2 separate regions of the Homo sapiens genome follow, and region 1 is linked to region 2. Evidence: promoter capture Hi-C in human tissues and cell types (Jung and others, 2019). All regions are on one chromosome and are shown on one strand. The core of a region is centred on a gene start or on the middle of the fragment in contact, and the rest is flanking DNA. Distances in the headings are between cores, read along the strand shown. Region 1 overlaps TMEM229B (transmembrane protein 229B). Region 2 holds the start of PLEKHH1 (pleckstrin homology, MyTH4 and FERM domain containing H1).

The links. Contacts are between HindIII fragments. The study calls those that stand out against the background at their distance.
Region 1: a contact is called between a fragment that was not itself captured here and the fragment with the promoter of PLEKHH1 in region 2, in 1 of the 25 tissues and cell types used here (spleen).

What each region holds. Positions count from the first base shown.
Region 1 is chr14:67,486,001-67,488,700 of GRCh38, reverse strand. It overlaps TMEM229B (transmembrane protein 229B), which reads left to right. Exons shown (of 3, transcript NM_001348543.2): 1 at 1-193; 2 at 1,529-1,701. It also overlaps a transcript of GPHN not described here. Among named protein-coding and RNA genes, the nearest start is that of TMEM229B, 1.4 kb to the left of the region's middle. RefSeq lists enhancers at 1-268, 1-405, 569-638. The HindIII fragment of the contact is 6,771 bases long and covers 1-2,700 here.
Region 2 is chr14:67,531,887-67,534,586 of GRCh38, reverse strand. It overlaps PLEKHH1 (pleckstrin homology, MyTH4 and FERM domain containing H1), which reads right to left and starts at 1,297. Exons shown (of 29, transcript NM_020715.3): 1 at 1,189-1,297. It also overlaps a transcript of GPHN not described here and a transcript of TMEM229B not described here. RefSeq lists a silencer at 1,204-1,673. The HindIII fragment of the contact is 40,466 bases long and covers 1-2,700 here.

The DNA.
Region 1 (2,700 bases), core at 38-2,537, 46 kb after region 2:
TGTGGCTGAGGGCCTAGGGTGGGGAGAAGTCTCCACAGGTGGGATTGAACTCCCCAGGCACATGGTCCTTGTGGTGCTGGTGGAGAGAGAGTCCCAGAGGGTTCGGACATGCTCCGTTAAAACCTTTTCCTCAAGGTGATAGGTACGTGTCAAGGTGACCCCTGTCCGCCATCCGGCAGGCTGGAAGAAGCCGGTAAGATGGACAGATCAGGGAGGGTTGGAGGGTCCCGTTTGTGAAGGAGCTGGGGAGGGGGAGGCAAGGCTGAGCACAGCAGCCCACTGTGATGCTCTCAGTGCAGAGGCCCCGGGGGGAGACCCAGGGGGGCACCCCCCAAAACCACACCATACAGTGAGTTTCAGTTCCCCCACTCCTGCCCTTTCACTTCTCCTCGGCTGCCTGGCTGCCTCACAGGTTGTCAGCTTGAGCAAGGGCCCAAGCGGCCTCTACTCAGAGACCCTGGTGGTCAGAGGGGAGTGGGGAAGGTGGACATGGGCATCAGCACAGACCAGCACCTCTGGTCCATCCTGCCTGGTCATCCACAGGGGAGTGCCAGCTCCCACCCCCAGCCACATACTGTTCTCAGCTTCTGAGTGGCTGGGCTGTCCCAGAGGGCCATGCTGGGCCTGAGTGCTGTCCTTGGGCATATGCAGATGGTGTTGTATCCAGGGGGTTTTCAGGGAAGCTTTAGCACTTTCATATTAAAACAAAAAATGTTGGAATCTCCATTAAATAGTCAAGTCTTAGGGATAGTAGTAAAAACATGGCTGTACATGGCTGGCCAGGCACAGTGGCTCACGCCTATAATCCTAGCACTTTGGGAGGCTGAGGTGGGAGGGTTGGCCAAGAGCTTGAGACCAGCCTGGTCAACATAGCAAGACCCGTCTCTACTTGATTTTTTTTTTTAAAGTACATGGCAAAGGGCATTATAAAGTAAGATTTGTATTAGCTTGTAGCTGGTTACTGATGTTCATAGGAAGGGCCTCAACCATAATAATGGTGAAATAATAAAATGAGATGAATAAATATTAGAGAGGTAGAATAGTACGTAGAAAGGTTTAGCACACATTTTGTTTTTCTGCACGAGTGGTTGTTCTCTGCTTTCAAAGTGCTGAAACGAATGTCCTACATTGTCTGCCTTCCATGAGGTTCTGACCGCCCTTGAGAACAGATGTACCCACTACAGGGTGAAGGTGAGAATGTAATTTGAAGCTGAATGAGAATGGAGCTGGATTCTAAAATTATATCCCCTCTCAGATTCACAAGTGTTCACACATTTAGGCAAGAAGCCCTAAGTCCTAACCCTGGACATGTGGATTGTCCAGGACCATCCCAGACTTTTGTGGCTGGATTAATCAGACCTGAGCAAACTGGATGCAAAGAGGAGGGGGTAGGTTCCGGGAAGGGGCCCTGGTGGCCAGGGTGGGATGAGTGTCTGGTGCTGAGCCCAGAGCCCAGGCCCTTGCAATGTTTTTCTTGGATCTGCTGGGGGCAGTTTAAGCTAATAAAAGCCTCCTCTTTTATTCCCAGGGACACATGGAAGCTGCCAGCCCCCCAGCCAAGGATCAGCTGAGCCCTAGGGCTGATGCTTGCCTACGTTGCTGAGAATGGCACTGAGGCCCAGCCAACAAAGGTTAACCCAGGACACTCCTGGACAGTGATCCTGATGTCTGTTGTGAGCTGCACACTCAAGGGTGTGATAAGTGAGTATGTTACAAGCACCCAGGGGATCACCAGCCCAGCGATCCTGCCTGCTCGGCACCTCATCAGCATGGGCACGAGTCTGGAGGTTCTAGTTCTGAGTCTGTTCCCCATCCAAGGTCCTGTCACAGGGCAATGGGAGGGGAATGTCAAGCAATATTGGGCCATCACATGCGGGAGCCGTCTTATGGCCACATGGCCTCTAAAATCCAGGCCAGACCCAGTGTATTAGTTTGTTTTCGTGCTGCTGATAAAGACATACGTAAGAGTGGAAAATGTATACAGAAAAAGAGGGTTAATTCCACGTGTCTGGGGAAGCCTCACAATCATGGTGGAAGGCAAGGGGAAGCAAGTCACATATTACAAGGTTGGTAGCAAGCAGAAAGAGAGCTTGTGCAGGGAAACTCTCCCTTATAAAACCATCAGATCAGCCGGGCACTGTGGCTCACGCCTGTAATCCCAGCACTTTGGGAGGCCGAGGTGGGTGGATCGCAAGGTCAACAGATTGAGACCATCCTGGCCAACATGGTGAAACCCCATCTGTACTAAAAATACAAAAATTAGCTGGGCATTGTGGCATGCACCTGTGGTCCCAGCTATTCAGGAGGCTGAGGCAGGAGAATCGCTTGAACCTGGGAGGCAGAGGTTGCAGTGAGCCAAGATCGTGCCATTGCACCCCAGCCTGGCAACAGAGCAAGACTCTGTCTCAAAACAAAACAAAACAAAAACCCATCAGATCTCATGAGATTTATTCACTATCACAAGAACAGCATGAGAAAGACCTGGCCCCATGATTCAATTACCTCCCACCCAGTTCCTCCCACAACATGGTGGAAATTCAAGATGAGATTTGGGTGAGGACACAGCCAAACCATATCATTCAGATTGTCTGGCGTGAGTGAAGCGAGCACTCACACCTGGGAAACAGCATCTACTTTGGCCGTCAGGCTTCAGATCTGTGCAGTGAGGACCATGCATCACCTGGGACTGGACTCTGCCCA
Region 2 (2,700 bases), core at 48-2,547:
AATTTAGGAGGCTTGGGTTTCAGTTATGGCTCTTCCACTTTTTAGCTATGTGACCATGGGCATATCACAACAATTTTTTTTTTAACAGACAGGATCATCAGCCTCCCAAGTTAGCTGGGACTACAGGCCCACACCACCACACCCAGCTAATTTTTAAATTTTTATTTATTTGTAGACACAGGGTCTCCCTATGTTGCCCAGGCTGGTCTTGAACTCCTGGCATCAAGCTCTCCTCCTGCCTTGGCTTCCCAAAGTGCTGGGATTACAGGCATAAGCCACTGCAACTGGCCTAAATCACAACTTTTCAGAGTCCCAGCTTCCTCCTTTGGAAAAATGGGGCCAATAATATGCAGAAACACTAATACCGATGTTCTATAAAGCGTTCAGTGATGGTACTAGCCCTATACACAGTGTCTGTCACATAGAAGACAGTCCAAACAGTTTGATGAAGGAACTGATAATTCTCCCACTGAATTTTTTAAATGGTCTTTCAAGTGTTTTACCTGAACCAAGGCTCTGTCTTGGAAGAGTTTTATGAGGTGGATTCATAGTAAAAGCTATGGAGGAGATATCCTGGCAAGCAGAAATCCCACAAGGAGAGGAGTTTCCTTCCAGATGAGGCTCTTCACCGCCTCTGCCACCCCCACTAAGGCCCCTGGTTCCTGGTGACCGAGTCCTCGCTAAGACTCCTAGGACACAATGCTCTGTGTCATTCGGCGCCCAACCTGTTTTCTTTTCTGCTTGAATGACCTGCTCCTAGGAGTCGAGCCTGAGCCATAGGGTCCCAAAGACAACACTCAGAAATCACAGAAGAAATAACCTGAGGTGAGATGGGGAGGGGTGCGGGAAGGGGTGAAAGGGAGCGAGCACCGATAGCAAGGTGGCAGCCTGCACGTCCGCTCCGAGGGCCCTTCCCAGGAGCGGCTGGATCTGACCGATCCCCAAGTCCAGGTACTCCCGGGGGAGGCTCCTCCTGGCCTCGCGGCGCGAGTCCCCTGGGGCGCCCGGCTTCCCAAGCCAGACCCGCGCTCCAGCGCTCCCCGCCGCTGGGAGCTCGCTTCCAGGTAGGGAGGCACCTGCTCCGGATCGTCCTCTGGGCCCGAGGGGCCGTCCCCCGCGCGCAGCCTGACGCCCTCCGCCGCGGCGCAGCCCCAGCCCACCACAGCGGCGGGAGCGCGGGTCGCTCACCTCCAGCGAGCTCGCGGCCGTCCCCGCCGCGCACTGGGCACACGGGCGCCCTCGGGCCGCCGCCGCAGCCGACCTTGCGTCGCTCTCGCCGGAGTCCCGGGCTGCCGCCGGTTCTCCCCTCCCCGGCAGCAGGGGTCGTGGGCTGCGGGGCGGGGCGAGGCTGGAGCGGGAGGGGTGCCCGCGGGCTCGCTGCACAAAGCCCGGCCGAGCCTTGCTGCGCCCCATTCAACGCTCCGCCGGGCGCCCTCCTCCCCTCGGCTCCCCGCCCGCTCCTTAAAGGCAGAGCGCTGGGCTCAGCTCTCCAGGCAGCTCGCGGAGAGGCACAGGAAATGACCTCAGCAGGCTCCAGCCTCCCACTTCTCCGCACCGCTGGGCTCGTCCCTGGGGCGGCAGGGAGGGCGGCGGGGTGTCCCGGGCGCCGGCCCGGAGCTCTCCGAGGAGGCCGCACCAGCTGCCGCAAGGGGTGGCCAGAGCGCCCCGGGGATCTGCTTGACCCCAAATAGCGGGGGACCCTCGCGGGCTGCGGGACAAGACCAGACCGTCTCCGCCAAAGGTTCCAGCATTCTCCTGGCCACCTGTGGGAACTGTAACGTCTGGATATTTGGAACAGAAGTCCATATTTCAGTCTGGCAGACCAAATGTTCTGAGTTGCAATTTGCAGGAGAAAAAGAAAAAATAAGTTACGACAGCCCAGAGAGTAACTTACTTGCTTATTTTCTGGTCTCGCTATGTTGCCCAGGCTGGACTCGAACTCCGGAGCTCAAGTGATCTTCCCGCCTGGGCCTCCAGGCCGGCTTATGTATATGTTATTTTAAAGGAGGGCCCAGGAGGACCCTGGCTGCCAGGCAGTTTGCAGGGCAGTCATCAGCGTGCCCATGTGCTCCTCGTTCTCAGACATTTGCAGATCTCAGATCGCCCAAAGCAATCTCATACCCAGAGGGGTTGGAAAACTCAACATTTGGCTAGGTGAGCCTGGAGTAAAGAAGATGCAAATAGAGACCATTGCAGGGAGGGATCCACACTTCAAAACAGAGCCTTCTTCCTCAACCCTGCAGGCTCTCTGTCAGTGAAGGACTGAACAGAAGCAAAATACCATCAGCGCCTGTTTCTCCAAATGGTCCTTGGAAGACTCATCCCAGGCACCATGAAGAACACCCCCACCCTGGGTTTGAATCTGAATCTCTAACTAAAGTACCCCAGGCCATTCTCACGTAGAAGTTTTGAGAGCCCAGACACTAAGGAAAGCTGGTAGTGCAGGAGGCCAAACGTGAGAATTTAACTGGGCCAATGGGACTTCAATGGCTGAACTTGCAAACAGCTTTATAGCTCGTGGGGATTGGGATAGATTAGCCCCATTTTGTGGGACAATGCTCAGGCTATCCACTTCAACATTCCAGAAGTTGCATAAGGAAGCCCAAAAACACGTTCTCTGGATTTTGCTAAGAAGACATTAATTCATTCATTCACTTTTTTTTTTTTTTTTTTTTTGGACATAGGTTCTTCTTGTTCTGT